2 separate regions of the Homo sapiens genome follow, and region 2 is linked to region 1. The links are contacts of gene promoters, found by promoter capture Hi-C in blood cells and fetal thymus (Javierre and others, 2016). All regions are on one chromosome and are shown on one strand. Each heading gives the region's core, a stretch centred on a gene start or on the middle of the fragment in contact. The rest is flanking DNA. Distances are from core to core; before and after follow the strand shown. Region 1 holds the start of SMARCD2 (SWI/SNF related BAF chromatin remodeling complex subunit D2). Region 2 overlaps TEX2 (testis expressed 2).

Region 1 (4,393 bases), core at 1,122-3,621:
CGCACACCACCATGCTTGGCTAAATTTTTTTTTTTTTTTTTAAGAGATGATGGTCTCACTATGTTGCTTAGGCTGGTCTTGAACTCCTGGTCTCAAGTAATCCTTCTGTCTGGGCCTCCCAAAGTGCTAGGATTACAGGTGTGAGCCCACCATATCCTGCCCTGGAGGTTTTTTTCTTTTCTTTTTCTTTTTTTAGGTTCCTCTGTTAACTGTGATCCACAGCTAGAACCACCCTCTGGAGGAAGGGAGGTCATCACTTCCCTTCTTTCAACTATTTGCTCAGCTTGGGCCTCAAATTCTCACTTTTCAAGTGCATCTCATGAGCCCTAACAGACAGGAACCCCTTTGTTTCCCAGATCTCAAGTCCCTTCTCCTGGCAGTCATACAACTGGACTTGGAAAGAAGGCAAATAGGATCCTCTTCAAACTCAGCCAAAGTTAGCTGGCTGGGTTCTCCTTCCCATCTACCTCTCCTGCCAGGAGGAGGAAAGCTAGTGGGATGGGAAACCCAGACTCAGGGCCATCTCCTACTTCCGCACAGCTAGCAGCCCAGGCCTAACCAGCCAGCCAGCTTGGCCTTGCCACAGGCCCAAGGCCACCCCCCACCAAAACATGTGGAATCCATCCTCTCAGGGGCTGTCCCAAGGGCACATTTCCTATGGCTTGCATGCCAAGGAAACTGGAGCGGCTTGTCTGTTCCAGGTCCTTCCAAGGCCAAAGGCCCACAGATGGTGCCCAGGCCAGGTCTCAGTGGGCAGGCCCAAGGGCTACAATGAATGATGCAGGGAGCCCTCAGCAACACCCTGGGCCCATGAATCCCCAACGGGGACAGCAAGGTGGGAGAGATGAGCCCCAGCTGGAATCCCTGGGACCAGGTCTGTCTCTGCCCATACCCAGACTCTCTTTTCTCTTGAGAAAGGAGGAAGAATGAGGAGTAAGAAGGAAAAAAAAATCCAGTCACTGTCCCTAGTTAAGCCATCTCCTTAGAAGTGAGGGCCCAGTGGGGCAGGTAGGCTGTGTATACTCCACGAGGATCCCTAAGGACCTCTGCCTGGAGACATGAGTCGAAAACAGAGGAAGCCCACAGCAAACCCGTAGATGAGCAAGAAGCCAGTGTCAAATGCTTGGGCACATGGCTTCGGACGTGGTGGAGTTAGAACCTGAAGGCCAAATAAAAATGCAGAGAGGGTGACAAGGCAGATGGGCACAGTTTCCAAGCCCTCTGGGGCAACCTGAACAGCAGACTAGAGCACTGGCAGGGTCAGGCTGAGGTCCTCACACACTGAGCAGAAGTCGCTGCTTTGCAAGGGCTTTTGAAGCTGCAATCTGAGCAGCTCTCAAAACCCCAAAGGGGTCAGGACAGCACTCTTTGAAGCAACTCTCGCAGACTCCTCCGGCCCCAGACCAGCAGGGCTCCACTCTGCACGTCCAGACTAATCAACTCCCGGACACGATGACAGGAGGCAGAAAGCCCAGAAGAGAGCCGGCCTGTGACTGGGCTGGGCCTCCCCTCAGGCCAGGCCACCACCGTCTCTGGTCTAAGCTGGAGTCCTCCCAGCGAAGGCGCCTGGCCCTGCCTCAGGAGTAAAGTCCGCCCGTGCACAAGCTGGAATCCCCTGGCCCTAGCCTCAGCGTCCCGTGCCCGTGGGAAGCCAGGCTCCTTCCTCCTTATTAGCAGCCGGGAGCCATCTCAGACACGCTAGAGCTCCGCCAGTTCCCAATCAGAAAAAACAGGGCAGACTTGGACTGGGACCAAGGCCGATGCAGGGTAACCCCGGTTTCTCAGCGAGGGCCCTTTCCCAAACTTTCTCATCACTTTCCAGCCCTCCTACCCTAGACTTCTCAACCCACCCGCCACAATTCACTGGCTCCCCAAACTCCTCCATCTCCCAGTCACTCGGAATCCCTGTGCCGCGGAAGCCCCCAGGCCTCCCAGCTGCTTCCAGCCCTCCGCTGCAGAACCTGCTTCCCCTTCCCACTTCTCCACCGCGACCCGCCGCAGCCCGAGGGTCCCGGCCCGCCCTCCACCGTCTCCCGGAGTTCCTCATGCATTCCCCAGGGCCCTCACTCGAGGCCCCTTCAGCCGCCGGCCCGGGCGCCCTCGCAGCGCCTCTCGCCCCCGTCCGCTCGCGTCCTCCTTGCTCACCTGGTACTGCGCCGCGGGGCCCGCGGGGCCCATGGGGCGGAAGGCGGCGGCCCCGGGGCCCCCCACGCCTCCTGCCGGACCCGGTCCCCGGAGCGCCGGTCCGGGCAGCATGCCGGGTCCCGCGGGGGGAGGCGGCGCTCCCAGGGCCGCAGCCACGGCGCCGCCGCCAGGGCTTAGCGGGGGCAGCGGGAACCCGCCCGCGCCTCGGCCCGACATCGCTCCGTCCCGTCCCGCGGTGCCGCGATCCGGACTCCGGGCTCCGCGTCGAGTCCACTCCGTGCTCTGTGCTCCGCGATCCGGGACTTGGCGATCTTAATTCCGGGTTCCGGGATTTGTCGATCCGGGCTCCGGGATTTCCTAATCCAAGTTCGCGAGTTCCTCACAGACCCGGTTCGGGACAGATTCCGCTCCTGCCCGGGAGATTCCGGATCCAGGATCTGCTGCGGGCCCGCCTTCCGTCCCCGGCCTCCGGAGGTTTGGCCGCCCGAGTCGAGTTACCCAGAGGCGGCTACGAACTCCCTGCCCCGCCCAACCCAGCCCAGCACTAGGCCCCGCCTCTACCTGGTGCCCAATGCTCGAGTGCCTCCTCGAATCCTGCCCCTCGCGAGACCCGCCCCCAGCGGGCACCGCCCCTAACTGCCGACCTCAGAGCCCCACCCCCCCACCTTTGGCCCAGCCTTTCGTCGGAGGGGCGGGAGCGGAAGCTGCGCGCGGAAGCGCCGAGTGAGGCGCGGGGTCAGAGGTCTAAGGTCACTTAGGGGCTTCACAGTGAATGAGCCGTTGCTACTACTCTCTCCCGGTATAGCACCCTCACCGAATTCCGCGGCCACACTCCCCGAAAATAGTTTTGTCAAGTCTCCTTTCTGCATCTTCGGCGTTAAAGACTCAACTCAGAGTCGGTAGCTGTGGCTCACGCCTGTAATCCCAGCGCTTTGGGAGGCTGAGGCGGGCGGATCCCCTGAGGTCAGAAGTTCGAGACCAGCCTGGCCAACATGGTGAAAACCCCGTCTCTACTAAAAATACAAAAATTAGCCGAGTGTGGTGACGGGCGCCTGTAATCCAAGCTACTCGGCAGGCTGAGGCAGGAGAATCGCTTGAACCTTGGAGGCAGAGGTTGCAATGAGCCGAGATCGCCCCACTGCACTCCAGCCTGGGCGGCAAGAGTGAAACTCATCAAAAAAAAAAAAAAAAAAAAAAAAGACTCAGCTGCTCTGTGGGGCAGAACAGCAGCCAACTCAACTTCCTGTAAAAGCTCATGCTGGTAGCTCGGAACTGCCAAGGGACCTAGGAGGCTCCAGACTTGACCCAGCTGGTGAACGGTCGACTTGGCCAAGGCTGAGTTCTACCGCACATTTTTAACGTGGCTCCGCCTCACTTTAAGGAAGCCTGGTACTTTACTCCCCAGAAAATGCTTCTAGTCAAAAGAAATTTGGCTTATGAGAAACCTCCCCGCAGTTTAAAAAAAGAGGTCTTTCTCCAGTATTTATAGCACTTAATTTTCAAAAATGCAGTATCTTTTCAGGTACACTGTGCTGTATCAAAGTATTCAAAAATGCGTCAGCTGTGCCAGGGAGCCTACCCTCTGATGGTCTGGATCTCCTCGCCGTGATATGGACCAGTGCTGCTTAAACTTTAATGAGCACATAAAAAACACTCGAGGCTCTTATTAAAAATGCAGATTGTGGCAGGGCCCAGGACTCTGCATTTGTAACAAGCTGCCAGCGATGCTGTTGCTTCTCAGACCACACTGTCAAGAAGCCGGGATCTAGACTTTTTTTTTTTTTTAGTTTTTTTACTATAATTGCTTTATTTTTCCAGCCCCAACCAAGTAATACTTCCTTCCTTGCATCATAGCACCCCAGATCTTTTTTACAGTATAGTTCTCCAGTGCTTTTTAGAAATTAGTTCTCCTCATGCCTCTAGTGATAAACACCGCTGCTGCTGTTTTCTTACCTCCTGAACTTAGAGATCCCACTCTATTGCCCCAAGAGTCGATAACCTGTCAGTCTGGGGACTGGCCACTGGAATTGTTAAAGTCACTGAATCATGGCCCCTCCCATCCCTGTAAAGTGGGTTAAGAGTTCATGATAAGGCAGCTAATATCCATTTCAATCCTTTTAAGCTTCTAGAACAACAGTAATTCTCAAAGTGATAGGGGCAGTGGAGAATCAGAGTCCTCTGGGAAGCTACTCCAAAATACCTCCGCCAGCCACCCCTCCAATCCAATGGCTCTCAGTATTGTATTTGA
Region 2 (4,393 bases), core at 625-3,124, 410 kb after region 1:
ACAAACACTGTCCTTTTTTGTTTGTTTGATTTTTAGATACAGGGTCTTATTCTGTCACCAACGCTGTGGTGCAGTGGTGCCATCATGGCTCACAGCAGCCTTGAATTCCCAGGCTTAAGCAATCCTCCTCCCAGCTCAGCCTGCCAAGTAGCTAGGACTACAGGTGTGTGTCACTGCATCTGGCTTTTTTTTTTTTTTTTTTGTAGAGGCAGGGTCTCACTATGTTGCCTAGGCTGGTCTCAAACTCTTGGCCTCAAGTGATCCTCCACTTCGGTCTCCCAAAGTGCTGGGATTGCAGACATAAGCCACAGCACCTGGCCTTTAAAAAAAAAAAATGTACCTTGCACACTGCCCAGTACAGTTGCTACTTAGTAAATACATAGACTAACTGGTCATCTTGAAAGCACTCTTAATTTTATATGCCTACTTCTCATACACAAGTCTGTAAGAGGTTTCCACTAAATGTTCATTTCAGATTCTGAATTTCAACTACCTAACACCAGCCCTATAATTATGCAGTGTGCAGGCATTTTTTTCTCTAGAATATCTACCAAATGATTTTATAGTCCAAAGACACATTTATACTGTGACAGAAAATCCACCAACAATGCTTCATTGTGGAACTATCTTGGAACAAGATTAGCAAAAGTTGATAATTATCAAAATTGAGTAATAGATGCCTGATATCCATTATATTATTCTTCACTTTTGTGTATGTTTTTTAAAATTCCAGAGCAAAAGATATTTTGAAAAACTTAGTCAATTATATACAAATTTGATGAGGCCTCACACATACTTTACAAGATAACTATAACTTAAATATGGCTGGGTTCATAGCACTTTATTGACTATCCCAAGCCAGTGACCTGTTTCATGAAGTCCTCTCCTTGTATGGTCCTGAGGCGTGGTTGTTCCTTTGAATGGGGAAACATCATCAAATCTCGCTGGAGATGGGGTTCAGGCAGGTTTTGCACACAGCAACTCCGAGTTGTCATGTTTGACCACCTGGCTGTAAGGCCAGTAGTCTCTGTCTCCTCTTATCAGGAAAAAAGGTGAAAGATCTGCCCGCATCCAAACACTAAAGCAAACAACTGCAGGCAAGAGCAGAGGAACAGCTGCTTCCGGTCCACCTTGCTCCACACTCAGGACTGCACCCACTGCAGAGATGCCTACAGGTAGGGCCAAGTCTCCCAGGTACGGGTGCTGAATGCTTAGCACACCACAGAAAGTCCAACATAATCTACCTTAGAATGCCTCCATGGATACACCTACTCAGCTGTCTTAGTTTTACCTTCTGCCCTATGGTTACGCTACACATGGAATCATGGGAAATGCTGACTAGGAAGAGAAGCTCATCCACTCGAAATCAAGTTCCCCACAGCCCTGAGAGTCAGCAAACCCTACCCACAGTCCTTTCTGTACATGCCAGGCATGGCTCTCAAGGCTCATTCAACCCTCATAGCATCTTGGAGGTGGGAAAGTGAGGCAAAAGAGGTTAAGAAACTTCCCGAGGCCCCTTGAGCAGTGTCTGGTTCCCAAGCTTCTGCTCTCCCTGCTACACTATGCTGCCTTGTGACATGTCCTCTGCAGAATGGCACCTTCTGAGCCTGCCCTTCCCATATTCCCCTCTCTGCCCCTCTGCACAGCAGCCAGACATCCACGTTGCTCTCTCTCTTGAAATGCTCTGCCCAAGACCCCCAGTTGCTGGTTTCTTCCTTTTCTTTCTTTCTTGGTGCCCTGTTCTTTTCCTTCAGAGGAAGGAGATTTTACACATATTACAATCCAATATATATGATGCATATGTCTATTGACTTGTTTGTTGTCTAGACTAGATAATGTGCTTTGTGCAGGAAGGAACCACATCTGTTTTGCTCCCCATCAGATTTCCAATGCCAAGCACAATGCTTGGCCCTGGTAGATGCTCAAATACTTGCTGAATGACGATCACTGTTCAGTCAATCCTTTCAGTAAAAAGATTTTTAAATTCTCTATTTTGAGCCTAAAATAATAAATATAACCATCTATAAGAATACAGCCCAAAAGACAGCATGAGGTCCAAGAAAGGACTGAAAATTGAATAAGAAAACAAGCCAGCTTATGTCAGCTTTGAACAGCAAGAGAAATGAAACTTATAAAATGCATATTGGGATTCTGAAAGGTTATTTGCAGGAGCAATCCAACGGGTAGGTTTTAATCTCAGATCCTAAATAAGCTTATGACTGAAGCCAGCTCCTCTTGCCCAGTGCTGCTTTCAACTGTTAGAATAAGCTGGGGAGGCACTTAATGTGTTTGTTGCAATAATCTTCTTAGGGAAAAGCCCTTAGAACCAATATTCCAGGCAAATCCAGCAGACAAAGGTTACCTGGTTGTTTCAAAGCCCACCCACATTTCCCATTCTCCCAGCTTCCACACAGAAAGGTTAGATTCTTCTCTCAATAGTCCCATTTATGCTCACAGTGACCTGGCACATGGCTTTTGTTCACCAAAGAAAAGCCTTTCCTTTCAAGGACTTAAGTCTTCTGCAATAAGAGTTAATTCTTTAAGTTTAACAAAGTTCTCCCAATACAAGTAGTCCCCACTTATCTGCAGTTTCCGTCACCCATAGCCAACCAAGTTCTGAAAATATCAAATGGAAAATTGCAGAAATAAACAATTCGCAAGTTTTAAACTGCATGCCATTCTGGGTAGTGTCATGAAATTTCTCACTGTCCAATCCCATCCTGCCCAGGATGTGAATCCTCCCTTTGTCCAGCAGATCCACGCCGTAGGCGCTACCTACTCATTAGTCACCTTTAGCTGTCTCAGTTATCAGATCAACTGTCACCATATTACAGTTCTTGTGTTCAAGTAACGCTTATTTTACTTAATAACAGCCCCAAAGCACAAGATTAATGACGCTGGCAATTTGGATACGCCAAAGTGAAGCTGTAAAGTGCTTCCTTTAAGTGAAAAAGTCAAACTTCACAACTTAGGAAAGGAAAAAATCTTGTACTGAGGTTGCTAAGATCTATGTTAAGAATGAATCTTCTATCTCCGAAAATTGTGAACAATATGTGGTTGTTATAACCGTTCTTTTTTTTTTTTTGAGATGGAGTCTCGCTCTGTCGCCCAGGCTGGAATGCAATGGTGCAATCTTGGCTCACTGCAACCTCCGCCTCCTGGGCTCAAGCGATTCTCCTGCCTCAGCCTCCTGAGTAGCTGGAACTACAGGTGCACACCACCACACCTGGCTAATTTTTTGTATTTTGGTAGAGATGGGGTTTCACTGTGTTGCCCAGGCTGGTCTGGAACTCCTGAGCTCAGGCAATCTGCCCACCTCAGCCTCCCAAAATGCTGGGATTACAGGTGTGAGCCACCGCACCTGGCCCAACTGTTCTATTTTTATTAGTTATATTGTTAATCTCTTACCGTGTCTAATTTATAAATTAAACTTTATTATAGGTATACATGCATAGGAAAAAAACGTGGTGTATATACGGTTCAGCACTATCCATGGTTTCAGGCATCCACTGGGGAGCAACATAAGCCAGTATTCTAGGCCCAGCTATCAGTCCTTGACCTTGCTGTGTAATCTTGGAAAGTTATTTAACCTTTCTGAGCCTCAGTTTTCTCATCTTAAAATAAGATTGATAATAGTATCTACTATTCATAGGGTGGTATAAAGTTTAAAGGTAGGAACAGTGCCTGGCACACGATTCCCCGTAAATGATAGTTACTCACATTGTTATCACCTGCGTATTGTTTTGTTTTTCAAAGCACTATCACAAACACCTGAGACTTCAAAAGTCCTGAATACAATCATTTTCTTTCAATTGTTTAATTTCTCAGATTCTTAGAATCATAAACTCATATAATCTATGAGACTGCTAGCAGTAGGGGATGGCACTAAGAAATCAACTCTTCATTTTGGAAGAGAGACTTTTTTTTTTTTTTTAAACAGAGTCTCACTCTGTCACCCAGGCTGGAGTGCAGTGGTGCGATCTCGGCTCACTGCAACCTCTACCTCCCAGGTTCAAGCGATTCTCCTGATTCAGTCCCAAGTAGCTGGGACTACAGGCATGTGCCACCACGCCTGGCTAATTTTTGTATTTTTAATAGAGCCAGGTTTTCACCATGTTGGTCAGGCTGGTCTTGAACTCCTGACCTCAGGTGATCCGCCTCCCAAAGTGCTGGGATTACAGGCATGAGCCACCGCGCCCTGTCCTGGAAGAGAGACTTTTAAAAGTCCAAATTAGTGAAGTGACGCGCAGCTGGTATCCTGCCTTGCTGCCCAGTGCAATTTTGGGTGATCCACGCAGCCATTGGGAAATATGTTTCTAATGGTGAAGCAGGGATGACAGGTGAAACTGTCAGGACTGTAGCCTTCTGACTCCAAGTCTAGTGTTCTCTCCAC

Evidence for each region. Contacts are between HindIII fragments. The CHiCAGO score rates a contact against its expected background, and 5 or more counts as called.
Region 2: a fragment that was not itself captured here is called in contact with the fragment with the promoter of SMARCD2 in region 1 in 1 of 17 cell types (activated CD4 T cells); the score reaches 5.7 in activated CD4 T cells.

Annotation. Positions count from the first base shown.
Region 1 is chr17:63,840,314-63,844,706 of GRCh38, forward strand. SMARCD2 (SWI/SNF related BAF chromatin remodeling complex subunit D2) reads right to left here and starts at 2,372. Exons shown (of 13, transcript NM_001098426.2): 1 at 2,146-2,372. The coding sequence starts at 2,361. RefSeq lists an enhancer at 1,295-1,374, silencers at 2,095-2,324, 2,695-2,864 and a cis regulatory region at 3,974-4,363. The HindIII fragment of the contact is 8,345 bases long and covers 1-4,265 here.
Region 2 is chr17:64,254,845-64,259,237 of GRCh38, forward strand. All of the region lies in intron 1 of TEX2 (testis expressed 2), which reads right to left. Among named protein-coding and RNA genes, the nearest start is that of TEX2, 6.2 kb to the right of the region's middle. The HindIII fragment of the contact is 672 bases long and covers 1,539-2,210 here.